Regions from separate parts of the Homo sapiens genome. Here region 2 is linked to region 1. Evidence: promoter capture Hi-C in 16 types of primary human blood cells and fetal thymus (Javierre and others, 2016). All regions are on one chromosome and are shown on one strand. The core of a region is centred on a gene start or on the middle of the fragment in contact, and the rest is flanking DNA. Distances in the headings are between cores, read along the strand shown. Region 1 holds the start of CHST13 (carbohydrate sulfotransferase 13). Region 2 overlaps TXNRD3 (thioredoxin reductase 3).

Region 1 (7,776 bases), core at 3,803-6,302:
AGGGGACTCTTGGCAGATCCCTGATATCCTCAGGATTGGGGCTGGTTGACAAGGGAACCAACCTGTGATTAGAGGGTTGGAACCTTCAGCAGCCTCCTGACTTTGGGGAGGAGAGAGAAGCTGAAGGCTGAGTTGATCACCAAAGGCCAATGATTTAGTCAGTTGTGTAGGTCATGAAGCCTCCCTAAAAACCCAAAAGGACAGGGTTCAGAAGAGCTTCCCAGCAGCTGAGCACAGGCAGATTCCTGGAGAGGGTCATGCCCAGAGAAGGCACAGAAGCTCTGTGCATCTTCCCCACACCTCATCCTGGGCATCTTGTCCATCTGGCTGTTCATCTATATTCTTCGTAATGTCCTTTATAAGAAACCAGTACACATCAATAATAAAGGGTTTCTCTGAGTTTTGTGAGCCACAGTAGCAAATTAAATGAACCCTGGAATCCCCAGTTTATAGCCAGACTGTGGTCAGAACCACAGTCCACAGACCACAACCTGTGCTTGCAGCATCTGAAGTTGGGGGCGATCTTGTGGGACTGAGCCCTCAACCTGTGGGATCTCATGCCATCCCCAGCAGGTGGTGTCAGAGTTGAGCTGACTGGGACACCTAGCTGGAGGAGACACCCAGCTGAAAAGCTGGCTGCTGGAAAAAGCCCACATGTACTTTGGTGACTGGGGCGTGTTGTGTTGTGTTGTGTGAATGAAGAAGGACAAGGTTTGTTCTCATACTGGGCCTGTGGCATCTCTGCTCCTCACCAGCCAGGGCCACCTGGGACAGAGCATGCAGAAAGGTGCTCAGGCTTAAGCATCCCACACTCAATCCTTCTTATGACAGGTGCTGTTGCAGGCCCTGGGAACAGAGTGCACAAGACAGAAGTTGTGCAGCCTGGACGCCAGCGGCCAGCACCTTCGGCTGTCTTCTCAAGGGTGTCTTCTGGTGACCCTGAGTGTCTTCTTCCCACTCAGAGGGCAGCTGGAAGGGATGGAGAATTAGCAGCCCCTCCCCACCTGCCCAGGGAACAGCCCCTAAGCACCCAGGTCCCTTGCCCCTCAGGGTGGGGAGATTGTACCTCGGTCAGTTGCTTCCCCTGCCCAGCTCACTATGCACTCCCCAACAGACAGACCCTTAACAAACTGCACCAAGACCTGGTCTCAGGGCCCACTGCACAGGACGCCCCACGTCTCATGGCTCAAGAGCAGCCAGAAATCCAGCAGGTTTTCTGAAATCTCCTGAGTTTTAAACATCAGCAACCAATTTGTGAAAAGGTGAACATTGTGCAGAAGTCGTGTGGATGGCGTCCATGTCACATCCCCACTGGGCTACTGCAGTGTGGTTCTGCAAGATCTTAGCACTGGGGGAAAGTGGGTAAAGGGGACATGGGATCTTTCTTCCTTACAACTGCACACAAATCTAGTGACCCCAGAATAGTTTAATTAAAAGCAAACAAACATTGCCTAACTATTTAAAAGCACAAAGATCTTGGCTGGACGCGGTGGCTCATGCCTGTAATCCCAGCATTTTGGGAGGCTGAGGCGGGAGGATAACCTGAGGTCAGGAGTGCAAGACCAGCTTGGGCAATATGGCAAAACCCCGTCTCTACTAAAAAGACAAAATTAGCCGGGCATGGTGGTGGGCACCTGTAATCTGGCTACTCGAGAGGCTGAGGCAGGAGAATTCCTTGTACCCAGGAGGCGGAGGTTGCAGTGAGCCGAGACTGTGCCACTTCACTCCAGTCTAGGCAAAAGATCAAAAAAAAAAAAAAAAAAAAAAAGAGAGAGAGAATGAAGATCTCACAGAAGTTAAATATGGCAGACTGCTAGTTTCAAACAACCCTGGCTACATCACTCTCTAGCTGTGTCCTTGGGTAAGTTACTGAGCCTCTCATTGCCTCAGTTTCCTCATCTGTAAAATGAAAGTCTATTATATACCTCATAGGATGCATCTGAGGATCACATGAGATAACACACATGAAGGGCTTAGAATAGTGCCTTGCACAGAATACGTGCCAGACAAGATGAAGTATTATTTTTCTAACGGTTTCCTCCATGAAAAAAAAAAAAGCATCATCTCTCACAGAGACAGCTCTGGCTCCTCTCCTGGCCTCCACCTCCTCCCTGCCTCCCACAGAGCAGCAGAGGTGCCATCTGTGATTCAACTGTTCTTCAGGGACGGCTTCCCTCTGTGCTTAGAAAAACCCACCCATGGGATCTGGACTCCCTGTCTGCCTCTCTGACTTCACCCATTCACTCTCGCCCACTCCAGAACCTCCCTGCTATTCCTGGGACAGGCGGTGGTGGTTCTAAAACATGCCCGCAAATTCCTGGGCACTGCTGGTGGGTGTGGCCCCACTCCTGAGTCTGGTCCAGCCTCAGCGATCTTTGGGTAACCAACAAAAGGCAGCCCCAGGCCAGGTCAGAAAATGGCCACACAGCCAGGCTCTGTGGGAGCAGCACACCGGGCCCCAGGCTGGAGGGTGCCCCGAGGATGTCTGGAGGCCAGAGGGTGGCCCAAGGAGACCCCCAGAATGGAGGCTGCCCCCAGGAGGACCCCAGGCCAGAGGGTGCCCCGAGGGCTGGAGGGTGCCCCAGGAGGCCCCCAGAATGAAGGGTGCCCTGAGGGGATCCTTGGATCGCTGCCCAGCAGAGCTTCCAGACGGACACCACCTGCCAGTGTGAGCCAGTGGGACACTGGGCCTGGGTGAGCCTCCCAGTGATGCAGTGCCAGCTGCCTTCTGACTGTGGCAGCCTGAGACTCCCATGAGCACTCAGCCAAGCCCATGCCCCAATTCCCAATACACAAAATTGTGAGCAAAATTTAAATGGTTGTCTTAAGCGGCCAAATTTTAGGGCAGTTTGTTACCTAGCAACAGCAACTGGAACATCACCTCAGGGCCTTTGCAATGGTACCTGCTGGCTTCTGCTCCCTGGAGTCACATCTCTGCTCCAATGCCACCTCCCCCAGGCCTGCCCCGGCACCCTCCTTGCACCGGACACACTTTTCATCCTGGTACCCGCTGTGTTTTCTTCACAGCAGCATTCACCGCTCTATCTCTCTATCCTGATTTTCCGTGCTTCCAATCTGTAATGGAAATGCTGTGAGGGCAGACACTGCATGGGTCTCACCCTCTCCACCCAGGCCTCAGCACGGAGTGGGTGTTCTGTATCTGTCGAATGAATGAATGAATGCGAGTCCCTGGGAGAGGGCGTCTTCGCAGGGAAGCTCCCTAGGCCCCGGGCGTCTAGCCAGGCATCTGCACCCTCCCACCCCAAGACCCAAGACCATCTCTTCCTTTCTCCAGGGACCCCATTTCCAGGGACATCTCCGGATGAAGGGCTGAGATGTTATTCCCAACTTTGGCCACCAGGTGGCAGCATATAAGGGCAAAGCGCGCTGAGGATTCCAGGCTGGCAGTGAGGCCAGGGAATGCCGGTCTGGGGAAATTTGGAAGGCACCTTTGGATGCGAGTTAGGTCCGGCAGGGAATGCAGATGACCTGGAATCCCTGGGTCCTGGGCCAGTCTGGGGGTGGGCTAGAGGTTCCCCAAGGCCAGAAAAGTCATGATAAGAAGCTTCTAGCTTACTGTGAGTCTGGACTCCCACCCCTGTCCTTTGAGAACATCATCACCATTTAAAGCTGTATCTCAAAACCAGCAGAACTATTATTTGCTTAATATTCTTCCTTAAATAGATCTTCCACAACTTAAATAAATATAGTAGGGAGAAATTTTTATTTCACCACTTTAACAGAAACCAGCCACTTGCCAGAAACAGGCAGTAACCATAAACAAATTAATTACTAATATCAAATACTTACCTGGCACTCACTGAGTGCCAGACACTGTTGCAAACATTTCCTGTATCTCATTTAATCTTCACAGCACTGAGGTTTAGGATTATCCCCCCGTACAGGAAAATGGGAAACAGAGAGGTGCAGTTAATTTCCTAATCTCCCACAGCAGTAAGCGGCACCAGGTGGGTTTGGAGTCACCACATTTTTCAAGAACAGTTTAACAACTGGAGCTTCGAGTGTGGAATAATAGACACTGGAGACTTGGAAGGGTAGGAGAGTGAGCGAGGTGGGAGGGATGAGGAATTACTTAATGGGTACAATGGACATTATTTAGGTGATGGTTACACGGAAAGCCCAGACCTCACCACTGCATATCTCCATGTAACAAACCTGCACTTGTGTCCCTTACATTTATACAAAAAACTCCAAAAAAAACCTACAGTGTAATGTAGTACCCTATCCCATGCACTCACACTGCTAAATGTTGTTTCCAACGCACTCATCCGCGCACCCAGTGCCAGCTGCACCCTCCCGTTCCCTGCTAGCCTGACTTCTGGGCAGCAAGACCCTGCGGTTAGACGTGGGCTCCTGCCCACAGGGCTAGCTGGATGTGTGTGTCTTTCAAAGGCTGGACTTTACTCTCACCTCGCCCCCTCCACCCCCCAACACACACACACACACACACACACACACACACACACACAGTCCCTGGCAAGTCCTCAGAGCTCACGTGGTGCCCAGAGAAGTTGTGGGTGACACGATGAGGCACAAGCTCCATTCCCCGGGGGATGTAAGCTGAGACCCTACCTCTCTGTGCAAAGGCTAGTGCCACCTGCATGAGCTAGATTCAGGCAGGACCTGGAGACCCTGGAGGAAAGCAAGGCTGCAGGGTAGCCTTGGGTCGGGGAGGGAGGGACACTCTTAGGCCTCTTACTGAGGGCGGGGGTCCCGGAGAGCCATGGACAGGGCAACGCTCTACTAGGCTCCTTGGTTCATCCCAGATCAGCCCTTGGGCCCCTGGCATCTAAGGCAGCAAAAAGGCAAGGGGACACCGCCCGGGGTGGGGCACGCCACCGCGACAATGCCTCTTGGCCTTGGGTGGATAATGGCACCCCTGGGCAAACCCTAGGGGCGGGGCCCAGAGGCGAGGGGCTTCCCCAATCAGTCTCCGCCCTAGCGCCCTGGACTTCGGCCCCATTCCATTGGGTGAGGGTGGGGGCACGAAAAGAGGAGCGGGCTTGCGGCCCCACCGTGTCCCGCCTCCTCAGTCCCCAGCGACTCGCAGGGGCTGGTGGGGCTGGGGTCCAGCTGCCGTGCTCCCCTGCCCTGCGCCGCGCCGCGCGTCTTGGTAGGCGCTGCGCTGCCGGGGCCGGGTCCTGGGCCAGTGCAACTCCGCCCCCAGCCGTATCCAGCGGACTGTCCTCCGCCGCGCGCCCGGCACAGCATGGGGAGGCGCTGCTGCCGGCGGCGCGTGCTGGCGGCCGCCTGTCTGGGCGCCGCGCTCCTGCTCCTATGCGCCGCGCCCCGCTCCCTGCGCCCGGGTGAGTGCCCGCCGGCCGAGCCGCGCACCCCCAACCAAACCTGGCTCCTCGCGCTTTCCACCGCGGCCTGACCCCTCGACAGCGCGGGGGACACCTGTTGTCTCCTTCCTGGCTGGGGCTAGGGGTGGCGGGCAGGGGCGCTGGTGAGGCACAGAAAGGCTCTAGACGCCCCCGCGAGCAAAGGCTCTTGCTCCTCCTCCGGAGTTACCTCCCCACTCCCAGAGCGGTGACTGTTTTGAGTCCCACAGCCGGTGCCTGGAGACCGGGGTCAGTTGTGGGGGGTAGAGGACAATTGGCCAATCCGGGAAGGCCATCTCCCTTACCTTCACCCCCTTCCCCTGCGCACCCCACGGCCCCTGGACATGAGCGCTGCTGGGCGCATGCGCATAGGAGGGGAAGCTTGGGCCACTCGGTCCGGTCCCTTGGTTGTCCTACTGTGCAGTGGGTGCCACTCCCTGCTCCACCCTGAAATCCACACTGGGTAGGGCTTGGGACTCCTGTGCACCCACTCGTGGTCTGGCTGGGGAAACTGAGGCAGTTAGTCATGACTCCGCAGAGCTGAGTGCCCTGGGCTCCACCGGTGCTGAGTCTTTGCTCTGAGTCTCTCCTCAGCTCATGTGAAGCCTCCCATCAACCCATTTCACACAATCTGAAGCGGGCCAGAGAGTGGGGAGACAGGTGTGGTGGCAACGTGCTGGCTATACAATCTACTTGGGACTGGAGGGGCCCAGCCAGCGCCCGGGTCTCCTGACCTCAGGGCTGTTTGCCTTTCCTTGTATGTGGTATGCGTGCTGGGTGGGACGACTCAGTCCGCCTCCCCACCCCCAGTGTGGGCTCTGAGAATCCTGGGCCCCACCCTTGGAACCTGGCAGACACAGTCCCAGGGAGTAAGTAACTAGGTCCAGGGTGGGCGGGGATGTTGGGCAGTGGGGGTGGGAGTGGCCCAAGACTTGAGGATATCAGGGCCTGGGGAGGCCTCTGCCCACTCCCCCTGACCCTCACACTGCCCCTTGCCCCTTGTGTGTCCAGACACAGCAGGTCAGACCTGGATGCCTCCCCAAGCCCATGGGATAGGGCTGGGGTGTCTCTTTCCAGCACCCCCACAACCCCTTCTGTGAGCTGTCTGGTGGTGTTGAGCAGACAATCTCCTGGCAGTCTGGGGTGTGGACTCAGTGTCTGTGGCTGCCACAGCCTCTGTCCACCGAGTCATTCAGTAGACAGATGTTTACCCAGTACTAAGACAGGGCAGAACTTGGTGGCTACTGGCCCCTCAGGGCTCAGCGTGGGATGTTAGAGGACACCTGAGTGCCTGGGTCCCGGGGAGTGTCTGCAAAGGAGCATACATCTTTGAGTGACTGCATGGAGTGTCTGCGTCCCCATGTCTCCGTGGGACACCTCTCTCCTGTCACCTACTCTACCCAGGTTTGAGGGATGAGAAACAAACCAAGGTACTAGTCACCTTCTGGGCTTTGTTCCTTCTGACCTCCCTCCCTCTCCTGCAGAGCCTGGGAAGAGACAGCAGGTGTTAGGAGGACGGCTCCGAACCTCCCTTCCCAGCCTCTGCGCAGGCTGGGCTCTCCACCTGGCCTGTCCTGCTCTTGGCCATGACCTCACCCAGCATCTCAGCATCTCTCTCTGTTTCTGTCAAGCGCTCTTGTACCTCTCCCATGGCCTGTCTCCAGCCATCACAGCTTTGTGAGTGACCTTGGGCGAGCAAGAGTTAATCAGACCAACCTATCCAGCCTCTCACACTGGCTTTTCTCTCTCCCAAGCCCTGAGCTGAAGCTTTGGCTGAGACTATGCTTGTGGGCCTGCAGGTGGCACACAGGGAGGGCACTCAGCTGGGAAAGGCCTTTTCCTGCCAGGCTAGTCCTGCTGGAGGGGCATCCCCTGCCCTTGGCCTCTGGAAATGGCCTCACGAGGGCCTGCAGTGTCTCTGCAGCCATGCCTGAGTTGGAAGGGATGTGGTCTGTGCCCTGTGAGGGCTTCTGGCCTGGGGATGAGGGCTCCAGAACTCAGGAGGGATTTCAGCCCCTTCTCCCAGGAGGGCAGGCCCAGCACTGTCCCCTCCTTCTCCAGAGCAAGAGGCCCAGCACTGTCCCCTCCTTCTCCAGAGCCAGAGGTGCTGCCGTAAGTTGGGCAAGGGGCCACTGAAGGGCTACTGGCTCAGGCCTGGGGCTCTTGCTACCCCAGGGAGCTCAGAGACATTCTAGTAGGGGGAGGTCTGCGGCAGCCCCTCCACAGCCACAGCCTCAGCCCCAGGGCTCCACCACCTGCACTGGCCTACTGCTTAGGGTCCCAGGGAGGAGGAGATTCCAGGAAGGTGGGGCAGCTGCCCAGAGCACTGCTGCCCTCATCACCCCACCCTCATCCCCAGTGCCCAGCGGCAGCTCCCAATGGCAGACCCCTGGGTCTCCTGCGGCCCCCTTGGCTCCCTCTGTGTTTTTGC
Region 2 (7,776 bases), core at 2,984-5,483, 110 kb after region 1:
ATAACTGTGACATCTAGGCCAAAGCCAGCCAGAAACCCTGCACACTCCAGGGCAACATAAGAGGCACCCACCACTAATGTTTTGCCAGGGCAATAAGGCAGAGAAAAAAGGTCATCACTGAAAAATAAAAATTAAAAAAAGAATACCTAGGCAGCAAGAATGAAATGAGTTATTCATGTTTCAGTGTATAATGGTCTTGTGATGACTGAATTATAATTTAGTGCTTGAATGAAGCAACAGCCTTTTGAAATTTGTAATTGAGTCTGCTGTGGAGAGAATGTGGAACAAGAAGTATACCTCAGATTTTTCTAAATCAGACCACAAGCAAGATTTTTTAAAAAATAAAATAGTATAGAAAATATCAGACTACATTACATGTGATAAAAAAAAAAACCTGTTTGTTTTGGAGATGTATGTACGTATGTGCTATGTGAAGAGGTGTGTGTTTGTTTACCTGAACAAAAAACTGCAACAAAAAATGTATTTCTTAATGTGAGTCAGCTCAAAAAAGTTTGCAAGTCATTACACACATGTCCTGTTTGACCACTAAGGAATATTCCCATTAAATCTCAGTGTTAAGAAAAGTGGTGCTGCTCCTCCCCAGCTGGCTCATTTTTATCATAAGGACACTAACCCCTAGAGCTAACTGTATTTACTTCTTTGTTTTGGCCTGTAAGAAGTTTAGAACAAAACTCCCAGGCTACTTCTAGGAATCACCGAGACACACACGGCATATTTTTGTACATAAATTTTGCCACTGGCCTTATTTACCTGACCTTATATTCTCTGTTTCATTACTTTTAACTATTTAGCTTCTTGCATTGTATATATTTTCATTTGTTAATTCAAATCTTTTGTGGAATAAGACAGGAAGTAAACTGGAAACATGTCAATATAATTCAATTTATTAACATTAAAGTTAAAATAGTCTATTTAACCTTACCTAGTAATACAGTATTCTTTATCTCCTTGGATTCCTAAATACCGTGGCCTTTCACCCGTTGCTATGACAAACTGTGCAGCAGTATAATAAGTCTCCTGTCCTTTTTTATTGGTTGCCTTGAAAAAAGAGAAGTAAACCTCACTTAGCAAACACTACAGAGTACCAGACACCCTGGACAAAATAGTTACTACCCTCATGGAGCTTCTCATTCAACAGCAACAGCAGACATGTGAAAAAGTAATAATGCAATGTGATAAGCACAAGCACAGAAAACAGAAGTCTTTATGAAATATTAATCAAAGCCCCATGGTGAGGGTAGGGTAGTGGACTAGAAAGCCAATCAAGGATGTATTAAAGAAGGAGTAGAGATTTTCAAGTGGAGATAAGAAAAATGAAATGATGGGAGAGGAACGGAGACCTGGAAGACAGAACAATGCGCACAAAAGCACATGAGCCCAGGAGGAGTTGGTGTTTGAAGACTGGAGAGCAGGGTTGTGTCAGAAGTCACATGAAACAGACTAGAGCCAAGTGCGAAGGCCCTTATGTCATCCTAACAACTTAGGCTATGGGGAACCAACAAAGGTTGCTCACAATTTTTAATTATACAAATAATTCAAAAATACATTTTCATTTTAAAAAAATTCAAATACTTTGGGAGGCCGAGGAAGGCAGATCACAAGGTCAGGAGTTCGAGACCAGCCTGGCCAACATGGTGAAACCCCATCTCTACTTAAAAAAACACAAAAATTAGCTGGGCATGGTGGTATATGCCTGCAATCCCAGCTACTTGGGAGGCTGAGGTGGGAGAATTGCTTGAACCCGGGAGCTGGAGGTTGCAGTGAATCAAGATCACGCCACTGCACTCCATCCTGGGTAACAGAGCAAGACTCTGTCTCAAAAAAAAAAAAAAAAGAAAGAAGCAACAACAAAAAAGAAACAACAAAAAAAGAAAAAAACCATTCACATGCTAATATTAATGAAGGTGTTTAAACAAGTGGGTTGGCATCATGAGTGGGATGGAGAACAGAGCCTGGAGAAAGAGCCTTGCTTAGAAGGGCTCTGAAACAGACAAGCAAGTACAGGCTCTGGGGTGAAACGGAGACTCTGGAGTTTCTCGCCTGCAGACTGGGAATGTGCTAGCATCACTAAACAAGGAGCCACACAACAGGCAGGCTTGGTTGGGGCTTATTCAACCATGTGTGCCAGGCAATTTGAGAAACACAACATGTATTTCTGCTGTGTTTCATGTAAATAATATAATTCAAATTGGCCCATGTAAGGTTTTAAAGGGCTGACTTTATCCTATTATATTTTTTTAGGGGTGAAATATATCTTTAACTGAATAAAGCACATCATCCAAAATATAGATTATATGGCAAATGATAACAACCGTTAAACCTAGGAATTGAATATTTGGATATTTACTGTGTTATACTCCCAATTTCCTGTTAAATTAAAAAAATTTAAATAAAATGCTGAAAATAAGCATTGAAGGGCAGCTTTAAATGGACCATACCTCACACATTTCTGAGATAACAGCTGAATACAAAATAATCTAAAATCTTGTGAAGATTATCTCACACTGTGCTAACAAAGTACAAAAATAAACTAGATGATGAGGACAATATCTGATTGTCATAATTCCAATTAAACTGTTTGTGTTCCTCAAAATGATCTCATTTTCCATATGTATTAATCTAATAATATATAAATATTACAAAGATAAACTTATAAAACACACTAATTCTAATGCTACTTTATCAATGCTTTTATGAATAATATAATATTGGAGTTCTAGTTAAGGTTTCATTTTTAGGAAGGATTCCACTAATAAAATTTTGATCTTTTTAGTCTTTTAAACTTTGAACTACTTAGTTTAAACATGTTCTCTTTTAAGACGGCAATAAAATCAAAGACAAATAATTTTTAATTAAGAGTTCTTTAAAACACAATTTCTTCAAGTTAACCAAACATGTAGAATTAGCAAACAATAGGGGAGAAACACACACACATGCATGGCCGTGTGTGTGTGTGTGCACGCACGCCTGTTACACCCCTTAACATGCAACATGAAATTTTAGTTGAAGGCAAGTATAAACAATTGTAAAGAAAGGAGATGAACAAGACAAGAAACTCAAGCACTACCTTTATTTTATGATGTTCAACAAATTCTCCATAGGAATTGACATAGGCCACAGCCTTTTCCCTCAGAGACAACCTGTAGCCCCAGTTTAGAGAGCTGATGTGGTTCTGAATCGCTTTTGTCATTGTCTCCCAGTTGTGCCTCACTAAGAAGAAATAATCAGGGTGAAGATGTTAGGTGAATTTTACCTTTAATGGTAAATTACATATAACCACACATGAGCCATACTAACAGTGCTTTAAAAATCAAGAAGTAGACAATCAGTAACTTAAATATTTTGTATGCCAGCCATAGTTTATACTCTTCCTAATTTATATTACAAAGAATGTGGAAAAATCAAGAGTTCTGAAAAGAAGAAAACTGGGGAAAAGTCCATGGAGGAGAAAATGGGGAAACTGGCCCTCATATGGCAACGCCTGCCACGACGTAAGGCAGGAGGCTCACCTCTCCTCGGTGGCACCTCCTAGAACCCTTTCCCACTCCATGGGACCTACTTTACTTGGCTCTTGGATGGGAAGAAGGCCTCAAGTCAGTGAGCTTGGTACACTCACCTCAACAGACTGGCATGGTTCCACTCTCATTTGGTTCACAGGGCAGTGGTTTCATGACAGTGAATATCTTACATGTCTTTACAACAAATATGGTTCACGCTCACCACTGCCAACCTTCAATATTACAGTGTTTACCCATTCCTTTGGAAGGTGGGGCAGGATTCGGGTGTTGGAATTCCACGTCATCCCTGTATCTTCTAGGTGGGATTTACTGCATAGTGTTCACCTTGTCTACAGATGCCAGATCCTGAAGGTCACCCTGTGCAGCTCTATGTTTATAAGATGCAGGGGTCAGCCCAGCCAGGGCTTTCATCATAACTGGATGAGATCCCCGAAGACAAACCAACAACCTGAGGTCAAGGGTAACATCTGGAAAATTACCCCATCTATCACTGTCAAGAAATGCCCCCCTACTCATCCAGGGACATGGGATGTTACCATGCAGGAAAGGGAGTCGACTGGAGGGGACAGTCAGTGCACAGAGAAGCTTAGCCAATGTCAACACACACGGCCCTTTCTATGATGCCAATGTACCAGTCTCCTAAAATTTTGCAACCCAGAATAGTCGTTCTTCTTACTACATTACCTCATCCTCCCACACCCTGTGATGTTGGTTATGATTCCCGAACCTGTCCCAGCAGTGACCACGTCACCACAATGGCACATATCCTCACATCCTAAAGATACTTCCTCCCCATCCCCTAGAAAAGCTTTTCTTCCAACCCTTAAACTATTTATCCTAAGAATCCTGTCAGCTCAACTAACAGTTCATGTGTCCTTTTGTTTCTTGTTCTTGTTGCAAAAGGCATCTTAGATTACAGGCTCTCAAATACAGCTGCACATCATAATGGGAATCATGTGGACCTATACAAATCCTAGGACCTGCCAAAAACTATGGAATCAGGAGTGGGACCCCAGAACCTGTACAGTTAAAAAGCTCCTCCTGGAGTTTTTGATATGCCAAATCAATGAACTGGCACTTTGAAACCACTTGTTCTACTGTTTTATTGATGTGTTTAGTCCTGCAACAGTATAATATTTTTAAATACTGAGAAAGGTCACCCTCTATACTTTCTCAAAGGTTGCTTAGCTATTTTCACATATGTATTTTTCAAAACGAATTTTAAAATAATCAGCCAATCTCCAAAAAGAAAAAAAAAGTCTCATGGAGATCTTACTGGACTTATATAAAATTTACAAACCATTTTTGAGATACTGTCTTCACAATATTGAGACATCCTCTATAAAAGCATAGTAAATTTTTTGTTATGCCTTTATATTCTTTCCTTATATATCCTGTACATTCCTGGTTGAATTTATTTCAAGTTATTTTCATTTTTTGTTACAATTTTCCATTATACATGTGAGTATGTGTATATATTTATATTACACACATCACACATACATATATATACACATACACATGTATATATACCTATATACACATAAACACACACACATATATACAAACACACACACAAACATATTTTAAGAGACAGAGTCTCATTCTGCTGCCCAGGCTGGAGTGCTATGGCATGGTCTTGGCTCACTGCAGCCTTGACCTCCCAGGTCCAAGTAATTCTCCTGCCTCAGCCTTTCGAGTAGCTGGAACTACAGGCATGAGCCACCATGCCCAGCTTATTTTTCTATTTTTTATTTTTGTAAGGAAGGGGTCTCGCTATGTTGCCCAGGCTAGTCTCAAGCTCCTCATCTCAAGCAATTTTCCTGCCACAGTCTCACAAAAGCAATCAACTTAACTCATTAGTTCTAATATTTCTTGTTTAATCTTTTATATATTCTATGTATGTTGTATATAATCATGTATAACATAACTCATACATTTAAAATATCTTTTTATTACTTCTTTTCCAATCTATGTACTTTTTCTATCGGCCCTTTGTGTGCACTGATCCAAAGCTCTAAACAGTGCAGATATCAGTAGTGAATGTCTGATTCTTGACTTAATTAAAATACCCCAAGTTCTTCTCCAATAAGTATTGCTTCTGACTCTTCTCCACCATGTGAAGAAGTATCTGTTTGTTTTCTAAAGCAGGAATGGGTATGAGATTTGTGTGAAATGCCCTCAGAGCTGAAATCCTGGCCATCATGCTGATTCTGTGCACTCCTGCTGTGCTATCCTGGGCTGACCCCCTCCCTGCACCCCACGGCGAGCCCTACCCACTCACATTTGTTCCTTCAAGACACTACCAGAGAGGATTTGCCAATGCTTGCCCTAGAGTTTGGGCACCTCTATGGGGTATAGTTTTCTATTTTTAGACTATCTTTCTGTATCATGGTTATTTCAGCCTCCAAAAAAAGGTGGCTTTTCTAAGTCTAGCTTTTCCAGAACAGTGTAAATCAAACTTGTCCAACCTGTGGCCCATGGGCTGCAGGAGGCCCAGGATGGCTTCAAATGTGGACCAACACAAATTTGTAAATTTTCTTAAAACATGAGGTTTCTTTTGTGATTTTTTTTTTTTTTTAGCTCATCAGCTATTGTTAGTGTATTTTATGTGTGGCCCAAGACAATTCTTCTTCCAATGTGGCCGAGGGAAGTCAAAAGATTGGACACCCCTGGTTTAAATTATACAGGAAGTGCCTGTTACTTGTAGATTTGGAAAAATGTACCTGTAACACTAATGGTACCTTTTGGAGACTGGGTTATTCTTACACAATATTTTTTCTTTGATTATTCAAGTCAATTCTGGTCATTTATATTTTCATAGAAGATATTCCTTTTCATCAAGATATTTAACATTATGACCACTAATTTTTATACTCAATTTGTGGCATCTCTCCCCATCTGTAGTTATACTTCTTTTCTAATGTCTGATGCTGCATATCTGTATGAGTTTCCCCCCTTATTTCCTTAATTGGATTTGCCAAACATTTGCCTATTTTATTTGTATTTTCAAATACAGTCTTGGTTTTGTTTATCAGTTCTATTTGGGAAGGGAGCTAACATTAATTTCTGAGTTTTTCTGTTTGCTTGTTTTTTGCTTATATTCAACCTATCTGATATTAACTACCACTGATATTATTTACATTTTCCTGCTATATCATTTTCCTGTTTAAAAATTTCTCATCTAAAATTTTAAATAGGAAATTCTTAATTTCCTACTTAAAATGTAAAATTTCCATATTTTCAACAATTATTTCTTTTGGTTTTAGGTATTTGTCTTAAACATAGCATATGGAAGAATTTTGCCATCTACTAACCCAAAAATCTGACTCATTCAGCTTTATCCTAGTAAGTAATATGACTACTCTTATGTAAGGTATCTTATTTTCTGTTGCTATTTTTGTTTGTTTTAACTTGTAGTTTCATGTTGCTTCCCTTTCTATTTTTTCTTTACTACCTTCTCTTTGTATATTTTCCCCTTTCTTTTTAAACTTTCACTTGAAAGCTCATTCAGTTTCTAATCTGGAAATTATCTATACATTATAAACTTATTTTAACCTATATTTCTCTCTCTTTTTTTTTTTTTTTTTTTTTTTTTTTTTTTGAGATGGAGTCTCACTGTCGCCCAGGCTGGAGAGCAGTGGCATGATCTCGGCTCACTGCAACCTCCGCCTCCTGGGTTCAAGCGATTCTCTTGCCTCAACCTCCCGAGTAGCTGGGACTACAGGCGCATGCCACCATGCCTGGCTAATTTTTTGTATTTTTAGTAGAGACAGGGTTTCATTGTGTTAGCCAGAATGGTCTTGATCTCCTGACCTCGTGATCCGCCCGCCTCGGTCTCCCAAAGGACTGGGATTACAGGCGTGAGCCACCACGTCCAGCCTAGCCTATATGTCTTTATCAATATCAAGAATGCAAGTATCTAGAACATTCTCCCAGAACATGATTTTGGCATGCTTTGACTTCCTCTCTTTTGCTGCTCAGATTCTGATGACTTCTCTTGGCCCTTTATTGAGTCTATACCTAAATACACCATGTGTTGGCTAGCTAAGTATTTCTTAGTCAGCACCCCAAAGACTTAGAAAGCATTTTAGCCGGGCACGGTGGCTCATGTCTGCAATCCCAGCACTTTGGGAGGCCAAGGTGGGTGGATCACCTGAGGTTGGAAGTTCAAGACCAGGCTGGCCAACATGGTGAAACCCCGTCTCCACTAAAAATATAAACATCAGCCAGGCGT

Evidence for each region. Contacts are between HindIII fragments. The CHiCAGO score rates a contact against its expected background, and 5 or more counts as called.
Region 2: a contact is called between a fragment that was not itself captured here and the fragment with the promoter of CHST13 in region 1, in 1 of 17 cell types (megakaryocytes). The highest score is 7.8, in megakaryocytes.

Annotation. Positions count from the first base shown.
Region 1 is chr3:126,519,103-126,526,878 of GRCh38, forward strand. It overlaps CHST13 (carbohydrate sulfotransferase 13), which reads left to right and starts at 5,053. Exons shown (of 3, transcript NM_152889.3): 1 at 5,053-5,327. The coding sequence starts at 5,231. RefSeq lists a silencer at 1,411-1,610 and enhancers at 4,377-4,877, 4,878-5,378, 5,439-5,939, 5,940-6,440. The HindIII fragment of the contact is 2,161 bases long and covers 3,564-5,724 here.
Region 2 is chr3:126,630,821-126,638,596 of GRCh38, forward strand. It overlaps TXNRD3 (thioredoxin reductase 3), which reads right to left. Exons shown (of 16, transcript NM_052883.3): 7 at 3,089-3,231; 8 at 944-1,059; 9 at 1-117. Among named protein-coding and RNA genes, the nearest start is that of TXNRD3, 20 kb to the right of the region's middle. The HindIII fragment of the contact is 223 bases long and covers 4,123-4,345 here.